Regions from separate parts of the Homo sapiens genome. Here all the other regions are linked to region 3. The links are contacts of gene promoters, found by promoter capture Hi-C in human tissues and cell types (Jung and others, 2019). All regions are on one chromosome and are shown on one strand. Each heading gives the region's core, a stretch centred on a gene start or on the middle of the fragment in contact. The rest is flanking DNA. Distances are from core to core; before and after follow the strand shown.

The links. Contacts are between HindIII fragments. The study calls those that stand out against the background at their distance.
Region 1: a fragment that was not itself captured here is called in contact with the fragment with the promoter of BEND3 in region 3 in 1 of the 25 tissues and cell types used here (heart right ventricle).
Region 2: a fragment that was not itself captured here is called in contact with the fragment with the promoter of BEND3 in region 3 in 2 of the 25 tissues and cell types used here (bladder and heart left ventricle).

Annotation. Positions count from the first base shown.
Region 1 is chr6:107,258,310-107,262,134 of GRCh38, forward strand. The region is part of intron 3 of PDSS2 (decaprenyl diphosphate synthase subunit 2); the gene reads right to left. Among named protein-coding and RNA genes, the nearest start is that of BEND3, 140 kb to the left of the region's middle. The HindIII fragment of the contact is 6,860 bases long and covers 1-3,825 here.
Region 2 is chr6:107,277,057-107,280,576 of GRCh38, forward strand. All of the region lies in intron 2 of PDSS2 (decaprenyl diphosphate synthase subunit 2), which reads right to left. All of the region lies in intron 1 of LOC124901366 (a long non-coding RNA gene), which reads left to right. Among named protein-coding and RNA genes, the nearest start is that of BEND3, 160 kb to the left of the region's middle. The HindIII fragment of the contact is 4,222 bases long and covers 1-3,508 here.
Region 3 is chr6:107,113,326-107,117,154 of GRCh38, forward strand. It overlaps BEND3 (BEN domain containing 3), which reads right to left and starts at 2,190. Exons shown (of 4, transcript NM_001367314.1): 1 at 1,765-2,190. RefSeq lists silencers at 904-1,813, 1,944-1,993, 2,034-2,083 and enhancers at 2,676-3,439, 3,440-3,829. The HindIII fragment of the contact is 9,723 bases long and covers 1-3,829 here.

The sequences.
Region 1 (3,825 bases), core at 766-3,265, 140 kb after region 3:
TTTTCTTCATGTGTCATGCCATTTTCAGGATCTGGTTATAAGATGCAAGTTTAGACTCTTTCCTACAACATCTACAACATTTGGAACCATAGAATATTGGAACCAGCAAGGATCTAAGAGATGGACATGATGCTGCCTTTATTTTTTTAGAAAACTAAAAAAAAAAAAAAAAAGTTGCTTTTGCTTATAAGTTGCTAATTTAAAATGTTTCACCGGGCACAGTGGCTCACGCCTGTAATCCCAGCACTTTGGGAGGCCGAGGCAGGCAGATCACCTGAGGTCAGGAGTTCAAGACCAGCCATAGCCAACATGGCAAAACCCCATCTCTACTAAAAATACAAAAATTAGCTGGATGTGGTGGTGGGTGCCTATAATCCCAGCTACTTGGGAGGCTGAGGCAGGAGAATCACTTGAACCTTGGAGGCGGAGGTTGCAGTGAGCTGAGATTGTGCCACTGCACTCCAGCCTGGGCAACAGTGAGACTCCGTCTCAGAAAAAAAAAAAGTTTCATGAAGCCCCTATCAATGTTTGTATTGAAATATGTATTCCAATATTTAGAAACTAATAACCGTTTAAGATACCATAAATTCCAGGATTGATAACTGCAAAATTGTTGGCAAAAATGTATCATGGTTCTTTGTTGGTCTGTCAGTTTTCTACTTTAGTAAAGCATGAGGATTTTGCAGTCAGATTGCCTGGATTTAGACAGCAACTCTACCATTTATTAGCAGTGTTACCTTGAGGGAAATTACTTATCCTTTCCCTGTACCTCAGGAGACATTAAATGGGTTAATATAGATAAAGCACTTAAAACAGTGCCTACCGTATAGTAAGCCCTCAAAAATATAAATTGTTATTTCTAAAATATTTGATGGTAATTTTAATGATTAAATTTTCTACAACTATAAAGTTTCTAATTTCAGTGATAAAAATGGGGAATTAAGATATCAGATAGACTGAAATAATAGATGGATGAATGAATGATCTGAATTTGGAATTCTGAGAGGTAAAATGAAGAGTTCAATGTTAAATGGCTTATTGGGGGATAAAAAGAAACAAAAGAAAAAATGAGGCCAGGCGTGGTGGCTCACATCAGAAATCCCAGCATTTTGGGAGGCCAAGGTGGGCGGATCACCTGAGGTCAGGAGTTCAAGACCAGCCTGGCCAACATGGTGAAACCCCACTTCTACTAAAAATACAAAAAAAAAGGAAAAAATTAGCCGGGCGTGGTGGCACATGCTTGTAATCCCCGCTACTTGGGAGGCTGAGGCAGAAGAATCTCTTGAACCCAGGAGGCGGAGGTTGCAGTGAGCTGAGATCGCACCACTGCATTCCAGCCTGGGCGACAGAACAAGACTCTGTCTCAAAAAAAAAAAATAGAAAAAAGAAAAAATGAAAGAGAAAAAAAGCCAAGGCTAGGAATTCGGTCCACAGACTTCTACTTTATGGTTCTTTCCACTTCTCTTTGTAGCTTTACATGTCATCTCTAGGAATGTAAAATACATAAGTGCTATGTAGCTCAACACATTATGAAAATATAAGTGATCCCCAAGAGTGTAGCTAAAACTGTTATTAGTAAACAGTTACTCTGATATTCTAAACAGGGAAACTATCCTTTAAAAACCAAAGACTTGATTTGCAATATAGTTTTGGTGTTTCCAGATTTCTGCCTGACTTTACACCCTGAAAATGGTCCCAGAACAATGACAATTAAGCCATAGGAATGACAACAAACAATTTAATGAAATTTCCAGAATGCTTAAAAAGAAACTTGCTTGGCACAGCCATACTTTCCAACAAACCCACTTTAAAGTTTTCACAGTTTACAATATCAGAAATGACCTCAGGGTCAGGCATTTGTCAGTTAATGACCTGTTGGGCTAATGGCCTTCAGCTTTGCCTTAGGCACATAAGTCCTCCAGTAGGTCATTAGCTGCCAGAAAAGGGCTCTTCCCAATCACTATGGCTAAATAAATAAAATTTGCTCCTGGGCTAAGACCCTATAAACCAACTTTGGCTTAGACTAAGTAAATTTTTTGTTGCGTATTTACAACTTTAAGAATTTAAGAAAATGATGGAAATGCTAAAACCAAAATTACATTAACATGACTGAGCTATATGTGGCTATCAATGAGGAAAGTAGTCACATAGACTCTTGGATGAGCTTAAATTTTCTTTTGCTTATGGTATTCAAATTCAGTTGAACCTCACATCATGGTTGGCCATGAGAAATAGAAATATATTGACTATGGCAATATTATATATAATACATTTAGCAACCTTGATCTTTGTAAATCCCATTTCCTACCTTCCAGAAGTAAAATTAATTAAATCAGTCTTCCCCCTTCATTTTTTTTTTTTTTTTTTTTTTTGAGACGGAGTCTGGCTCTGACGCCCAGGCTGGAGTGCAGTGGCGCAATCTCGGCTCACTGCAAGCTCCACCTCCCGTGTTCAAGCCATTCTCCTGCCTCAGCCTCCCGAGTAGCTGGGACTACAGGCGCCCGCCACTATGCCCGGCTAATTTTTGTATTTTTAGTAGAGATGGGGTTTCACCGTGTTAGCCAGGATGGTCTCGATCTCCTGACCTTGTGATCTGCCCACCTCAGACACCCAAAGTGCTGGGATTACAGGCTTGAGCCATCGCGCCTGGCCCCCCCTCCATTTTCATGGACATTTGCTAGATCTCCAAAGCCAGAGCGAGAAAAAAAATCTATTTTCAAGTTTGAGTGATTCAGTACTCTTCTTTTCCCTTTCTAATGGTCTCACCTGAGGAACTTTCTGAGTTAGGAGTTTACTAAGTACTGGGTGGATAGACAGCTGATTCCTGCCTTCGCATCTGCAGCTGCCTATCTCTTCTCCATCTATCCTTTCTTCACTCCAGCAGGCTTGTATACTGTGTCTCTTTCTGTCCCTTCCCAAATCTCATGTTGAATTGTAAACCCCAATGCAGGAGGTGGGGCTGGTGGGATGTGTTTGGATCATGGGGGCAGATCCCTTATGGCTTGGTGCTGTCTTCACAATAGTGAGTGAGGTCTTGGGAGATCTGGTAGTTTAAAAGTGTGTGGCACCTCCTTCCCGTTGCTCCTGCTTTCACCATGTGACGTCCCTGCTCCCACTTTGCCTTCTGCCATGATTGTAAGCTTCCTAAGGCCTTCCTAGAAGCTGAGCAGGTGCAAGCACCATGCTTCCTGTAAAGCCTGAAGAACCATAAGCCAATTAAACCTCTTTTCTTTACAAAATTACCCAGTCTCAGGTATTTCTTTTCTTTCTTTTTTTTTTTTTTTTTTGAGATGGAGTTTCACTCTTTCCCCTAGGCTGGAATGCAGTGGCGCAATCTCAGTTCACTGCAACCTCCGCTTTTGGGTTCAAGCAATTCTCCTGCCTCCGCCTCCCGAGTAGCTGGGATTATAGGTGCCCGCCACCATGCCCGGCTAATTTTTTGTATTTTTAGTAGAGATGGGGTTTTGGCATGTTGGCCAGGCTGGTCTCGAACTCCTGACCTCAGGTGATCAACCTGCCTGGGCCTCCCAATGTGCTAGAATTACAAGTGTGAGCCACCGTGCCTGGCCCGTCTCAGGTATTTCTTTTCTTTCTTTTCTTTTTTTTTTTTTTTTTTTGAGATGGAGTCTGGCTCTGTTGCCCAGGCTGGAGTGCAGTGGTGCGATCTTGGCTCACTCCAAGCTCCGCCTCCCTGGTTCACGCCATTCTCCCGCCTCAGCCTCCTGAGTAGCTGGGACTACAGGCGCCCGCCACCACGCCCGGCTAATTTTTTTGCATTTTTGTAGAGACGGGGTTTCACTGTGTTAGCCAGGATGGCCTCGATCT
Region 2 (3,520 bases), core at 148-2,647, 160 kb after region 3:
TAGATAACTAACAGAGACTCCAATCCCCAATCTATTTCTACTAGATTAGGCTGCCTTCCACATGTGCCCATTGAAAGCTTCTATCTTTCCTTTTTTTCTGTAGACCTCATCTGTGTCACAAAAGCTTTAAAAAAGTTTCCTTGAAGAAGCTAAATTTGAGCGGGGCCTGGAAAGGCAAGTAAGATTTCCATAGCTGGAGAAAAAGGACAAAACAAGAGTAGGGCTTGGGAACCCCAGAATAAGAAAGACTACACATCATGACACAGAGAAGGCAAGAGTAGAAAACGTGACCAAAGGTTGAAAAGATCAGTTTGGCTACAGTAAAGGGACTGTGTGGATAAGTGAGAGATAAGAATTTTGGAGCTTGGTTATAGCAGGTGAAATGGTCTATATTTTACACATGCAATATTTTGAGATGAAAGGATGATATATATTTTTTAATAATTTAGGAAGAAGATTCCAAAGGTGATACATAGAAAAATCTTAAAAAGTATGTAGGGAAAGTAGGGATATGGGGTGGGGGAGCTATTACAAAGGTCCAAGGAAGATGCAACAAAAGGGCTTGACCTAGGACACCGCCTTAGACATGGAGAGAAATAAATATAGAATAATCAGGCCAGGCGCGGTGGCTCAGGCCTGTAATCCCTGCACTATGGGAGGCCAAGGCGGGTGGATCACCTGAGGTAAGGAGTTCGAAACCAACCTGGCCAACATGGTGAAACCCCGTCTCTACTAAAAATACAAAAATTAGCCAGGCGTGTTGGCGGGTGCCTGACTAATTTTTGGGAGCTACTTGGGAGGCAGAGGCAAGGAGAATCACTTGAACCCGGAAGGCAGAGGTTGCAGTTAGCTGAGATTGCACCACTGCACTCTAGCCTGGATGACAGAGCAAGACTCTGTCTCAAAAATAAATGAATAAATAAAATAAATAAATAAATAAATAAATATAAAATCATCAAATAATATATGAGACTCCTCTTAAAAAAAACAGAATGGTTTAACATCTATAATAATCACATAAAGATACAATTAAAAGAACAAATTGGCATTATCAAATGCCAAGGAAAATCTCATGTCTAATTGATTTCCTTTGTTAAAAAAATTAAGAGAATATGTAAAGATGACCCAGTAGACATATTGTACTTGATTACAAATTTGGGGAGTAGAGAAAGGAAATGAACCAGTGAGTCAAATAGTATCTAAGAGTAAATTCATGGTTTAGATTAAAATCTCATTATATCCCAAAGAAAATCACTAAGAATGGAGACTTATAAGACAGTTGAAAAGTTAACAGAAGACATTTTTTTAAAGTAGAACATTTAAAATTACCGTTTAAAAAGTGACTAAAAGAAAGGAATAAAATTGTATTTTATTACTATCCTGCGAATGATTTCTAGTTTACAAAACCATTCACTGAAAAAAGTCCGCATTATCACATTTCACAAAAATCACATAATGAGATTATGGGCAAGTATAAAAGTAAAAAGCGTTAAGCATTTGGACAAGTTTTTCATGCAGTTCAGTTTATGAAAGAAAGTAATAACCAGGTAAGCAAAAAGTTGTGGTGTTTTGAATTACTCAAAGGATGAAAATGAGTGATTTTGACATCTATAGTCATAAAACAGCATTCATTAAATAAATAGAAACTTTTAAATGCCACATGACCAGAAACAACAAAAACAATGGTATGCAATAATAAAAGTGAAAGCCCATCATTTTTACAGGGTCTGCCATTTAAAAAAACCTTTCATTTATATTATCTACTTGTGATTCTAATTACAGAGGTCTGCAGAGGTTAAATACTTGATCAAGAACACTGAGTTTATACAAGGCAAAGCTGGAACTCAGAGCCACCTTGTCATAGTAACAAATGACAATTTAAAACATCTAGCTGGGCTCACGCCTGTAATCCCAGCACTTTGGGAGGCTGAGGCAGGTGGACCACTTGAGGTCGGGAGTTCAAGAGCAGCCTGGCCAACATGGTGAAACCCCATCTCTACTAAAAATACAAAAATTGGCTGGACATGGTGGCGCATGTCTGTAATCCCAGCTATTTGGAGACTGAGGCAGGAGAATCGCTTCAACCCGGGAGGCGGAGGTTGCAGTGAGCCGAGATCACACCACTGCACTCCAGCCTGGGCAACAGAGTGAAACTCTGTCTCAAAATAAAAATAAAAATAAAAATAAATGTTTATTTACCTAAGGAATAGTAGATCGTTGGGGAGGGGGAATAAGCCAAAGTTATCAATGTTACCATCACTGATATATGCCACAAATTTGTCCAATTTTTATCCCTAGTTTTGAAGCAACAGGGAAGGGAATGTTGCTAGGAAAAAAGTATATTAAGAACAGGCTTAATTCTTTTTGTTTACAGTAACTGGGGAAGGTCAAGTTGTTTGAATTCACCAGGATGAAATCAATAGTTTTAGCCTAATCAGGAATCTGGATAACAGTTCTACTTCTGCTTATTACATAAGACAATTCATGGGCAAATCCCTTAAATCAGACCCGTGGTCTTCTTGTCCCTGAAAGGAGGGGGACTGGAGCAACACATCCCTTCCAGTCCCCAAATTATAAGATTCAGGGATTTTTTTAAAAAAAGAGTTATCTAAACTGGCAGTTAATAGTTAAAAAGATTTAAAAAAATGATTACTATTATTGGTACCTATTTTTCTATAGGAAATAGGAGTGAAATGACTGGTCGTCTTTAAATCTATCCTGTAATTTCACTCTCTAGTACTGTGCTCTCAGATTCTAAGATTTTATCACCAGATAAGTAACTCTGGATCATATTTTGTAAGAGTACAATTTAGTATATGTCAGAGAAGCATTGACAGTATGAAAAAATTTGAGAAAAATTTCTTCTGGTGATCTTATTCCTATTTTAGCTACCCAAAGCAATCTATTAAACTTTCAATGCACTGGATTTTTAAAAAATTATCTTAAATAAAAGTCTTCATGCCGATTTATGTACATATATTTTAGTACTCTTGAATATTTCTCATGCTAACTCTTTTTTTTGAGATGGAGTCTTGCTCTGTCACCCAGGCTGGAGTGCAGTAACGTGATCTCGGCTCACTGCAACCTCTGCCTCCCAGGTTCAAGCAATTCTCATGCGTCAGCCTCCCGAGTAGCTAGGATTACAGGCATGCGCCATGATGTCCAGCTAAGTTTTTTGTATTTTTAGTAGAGACAGGGTTTCACCATGTTGGCCAGGCTGGTCTTAAACTCCTGACCTCAACTGATCCACCCACCTCGGCCTCCCAAAGTGCTGGGATTACAGGCCTAAGCCACTATGCTGGGCCCTCATGCTAACTCTTGATTAGAAAACAGTCACAAATAAATACAACTTATGTTAAGTAATCAGAGTAAGAAAGTAATTACCATATTGAAAGATTAATAAATGTTTTTACAAGATTTTTCACCAAATCACTTTCTTTCCATTATATGTTAAAAAATTTCATCTGCTTTTGATCTGTCCATTTTCCTCCAAAGCTTCTCAAATTTTTTTAGCATCCTA
Region 3 (3,829 bases), core at 940-3,439:
ACTCCGTGAGGCTGAGGCAGGAAAATCGCTTGAACCCGGGAGGCAGACGTTGCAGTGAGCAGAGATCAAGCCACTGCACTCCAGCCCGGGTGACAGAGCGAGACTCCGTCTCAAAAAAAAAAAAAAAACAAAAAAAAAACTCATGTTCCATGACAGGAGGTTGATGTGACAGATTTCAAGGGCCACACAGACACCAGCTAACCCAGCAGCAGCAACTGGCGCTCTGGCTCCATCTTTCCTCTAGAATCCAAGAGGCTCTCTCCATTCATTTAGGAAATACGCACTGAACGCCTACTAAGTTATGAGACACCGGGTTAGAGGCTGGGGATGTGAAACTGTGAGGGAGATAAAAAATCTTGCCCAAGTCCCAGTACCGAGGAAAGCTTGACAGGCTCTTGTATGGTAGTATAAAGCCAATATCTAGGGATGAATGGTTTAAAAAAAAAAGAGAGAAAAACGGACTGCAAGGGTGGAAGTGGGGAGCGGGTAACAAGAGAAAGTCCTCCATCCCAGCCGTTTATATACCTGGCTACCTGAAGGACTCAGTTCCTTACCTCAGTTTCCTGCAACCGTAGCTTTCTGGCACTATGCCACGCTGCCCTGTGGCATGTTTACTATTTGTATTCAACCATTCAAAAGTTACTTTAAGGAGATGAACTGCACATTTCCAACTCTAGTGAGTAACCTTGTTCCTCCCGGCACTCTTGTCGAGTTAGCGTTTACGTGCAGAATTCTTCCAGAAAGACCACCTGAGCAATCAATAAAACTTTTATCTCTGTAAAAACACCTTGTTTAAAATAGCTACATAGGGAGACGTAGGTAAACAAGCACACAAGGGCCTCCAAATCGGTGGTGCACAGCTCACGGATGAGGCAAGGGCAAAGCATGCGTGGGAAATCACGTTTATCATAGAGAAGGAAAGGAGCGCTCACGAGGAGCGGCGAGCGCCCCAGGCTTCAGCTTTGCGGCCGGCCGGCCAGGCCTCGCGCCAGCCCGGGTGCACACCCAAGGCGCCGGGCCCGCCTCCAGCTCCTGGGCAGCGGGAACCGCGAACCGCCGTGGAACGGCCGGGAAGGGAGCGCTGCGCCCCCTGGCGGCGGGGCCCATCCCTCTCCGCTCCCGGCCGCCGCCGCCGCGGGCCGGCCTCGCTCCATTTGCAGCCTCCGGAGGCTTCGTTCCTCCGAGCGGCTGCTCCCCCGGCCTCCCGCTCGCCGCCCGGCATCTCCCTCCAGTCCCCGCCCCCTGCTCCCGCTCCGACACCCCCTTCCACACGCCGAGCAGTGCCCCGCCAAAGCCCCGCCGAGCGCGAGCGCCAAGCCGCCGCGAGTACGGCAGAGCCTTCCGGCCGCCCCGGCCGCTCCATCGCGGCGCCCGGCGGGGGTGCGGGGCCGGCGCGCGGCGCGAGTGGGGCGGGCGGCGGCGGCGGCGCGGACGGTTCCACCGCGCGAACCCCCCGCCCCCGCGCGGCGCGCGTGCTCCCCAGAACGCCATGGAGCCGCCGCGTTCCGAGCGGGCACAAAGGGGCGCGCAGCACAATGGGCGCGGCGAGCCCGTGGGCGCCCGGCGCCCGCTCCGGTCGCTCGGCCCGCGCGGGGGTGGGCGCTACTACCGGCGGGCGCGCTCGGAGCAGCCCCCCTCCGCGTCCCCTCCCCTGCTCCCGCCCCCACCCCGGCATGGATGTTGCAGCCACTCTACCGGCCGCTCGCCCCGGAGCCGCCAACGCTGCCGCCGCCGCGCGGCCGGCTTGATCCGCCCCGCACTTACCTGGGACGCGAGTTCTGTACTTTGCCGGGCGGGCCCGCGCCGAGTTTGGGCGCCACGTGGGGGGGAGGGCGCGGGGCCGGGGAGTGGGGGCCGCGCGCGGAGGGCCTGGCCAGGGCGGCCCGGGGAGGCGCTGGGGGCGGCGGGCGGGCGAGCGCCGTGTATTTTCCCCTCTCTTTGTGTGTGTCCGTGCGCTGCGCTCTCGCGTGACGTGACGGGACTCCGTGTGTCATTTCCGCACAAGGACACAGGAGCCCCCGCTGCAGTGGAACCACAACCCCTCCGCCCCCACCCCCGGCCCGCCCCTCCCCCTCAGCGGGGCACACGCGGGACCGGCGGCGGCGGCGCTCGGGCGTGAACGGCCGCGGCGGGGAGCTCGGGCGCGCACTCCCGGGACCCAGGCGGCCCGGCGCGCTCGGCCAGCGCAGTGGCTCCACGTGGGCCCGCGCTGGCTGCCCGGGGCGGGGGCGGCGGCCGCGCACCCACGGCGCGCCGGGCAGGCGCCGCGAACAATGTCCCCTGTACCCCATGTGTCCTCCCACCGCGAGTTCGTCCTCGGAAACGTGGTTTCTCAGACCCGAGAGTTTGGCCCCAAACGGCTTTTTCTACTTTTTTGCCCCTTGCGGGACGGCGACTGTGCGGAGCTTGTCCCGCCTCGCGCCCACGCCTCTCCCGCATTTTTGGCCTTTGGGCCGCAGCCCAGGCCCCCGGGGCCGGTCTTCCCGCGCCGCCACCGGCACAAAGACCTTGGGGCGCGAGGGCCCGGGTGGCTCCTGCGGCCCCGCGGGGCGGCATGGAGTCCGGCGGGACCCGGGAGAGCGACCCTGGCGCTGGGAAAAGCTGGCTCTGGCCACTCCCCCTGCACGGTGGCCGCCCTCTGTTGTGAGCCTCAGAGCTAAAATCTGCTCTTGCAACCCGAAGTTCTGGGGTGTGAGGCTGCGGAGCGAGAGCTTCGGAAGCGCCCGCGCTCACAGACACACACCCCACAAACACAAACCCACGGGCTGTCTGCGCCGAGCGCCTAAAATAGAAAAACACGAGTCACCAACTCAATAAAGGCTGATTCTGTCTACTCCTAACTCTTGGACTGTAGATTCCCAGTTGATAAATACGAAATCTACCCCTCGGGTATTTTCTCAAGTCTCAGTGGCTGGGTAGGGGGAGGGGGAGGTGCTGGGTGAGAGTCAGGGAAGCCCAATTCAACAGTTTAGCCACGTTTGTATTTTAGGCAAACAATGAGAATGTAAATTTAAGAAAAATCCTTTAATTTGCCGATCAAAGAAAGTATAAAAAGAAAAATGCAAATGATCCCATCTGCTGCTCACAGCTGACTGGCTGCAAGGGAGGACCATGTGGCACGGCCCTGCGCGGTCAGTGAATAGGTAGAATAGATTTTTAAAAGAAGGCATATGTTGGCTCCTTGCTGCCCAGTCGCGGCGAGGGTTTGAATTAACGTATAGTTTGGGTTTACCGTACCCTCCTTCAGACCACTCCAATTGGGAATTTAGTAATTATGCAAGTTCCCCCCCTTCGGGCTTGAAATCAAAAGGCACAGGGTTAAGTTTGAGGAACTACGTGGAACATTCTCGAGCTGTATTTGGATTACTGGTTTAGTGAAGTCAGTACTAATTGCTATGCAAAATTAAGCAAGCAGCCTGAAGAACCAAGCCCTGCATCCAGGGGGTGCTTTTATAGAAGAATCTATACGTGCTCAGTGTCATTGAAAACAGGATGATGAAAAGAATGGGGCCGAGATAGCAGCCCTTCAAATTCAAAAGACTTAGGTCGCCCTATCTACATTTAAAATAGGGCGGAGGGAGGAAGGGAGGAGGACTGCTTGGGGGAGAATGGTTAATTTATACATTCGCAGAAGACTGAGGGGAGGCACTTCGATTTCTGCAGAGAACTTGACTTTTACACTTGCACATTAAATAACACGTACGACACAGTACATCGCTTGACTTAGTTAACAGATACACCAGTTTTATTCTCACCTTCAATTTAATGTGACAGTTATAATTAGAATTTTTAAAGTAGAAGTTGCATTTCATTAGTTCAGTTTTCTAGG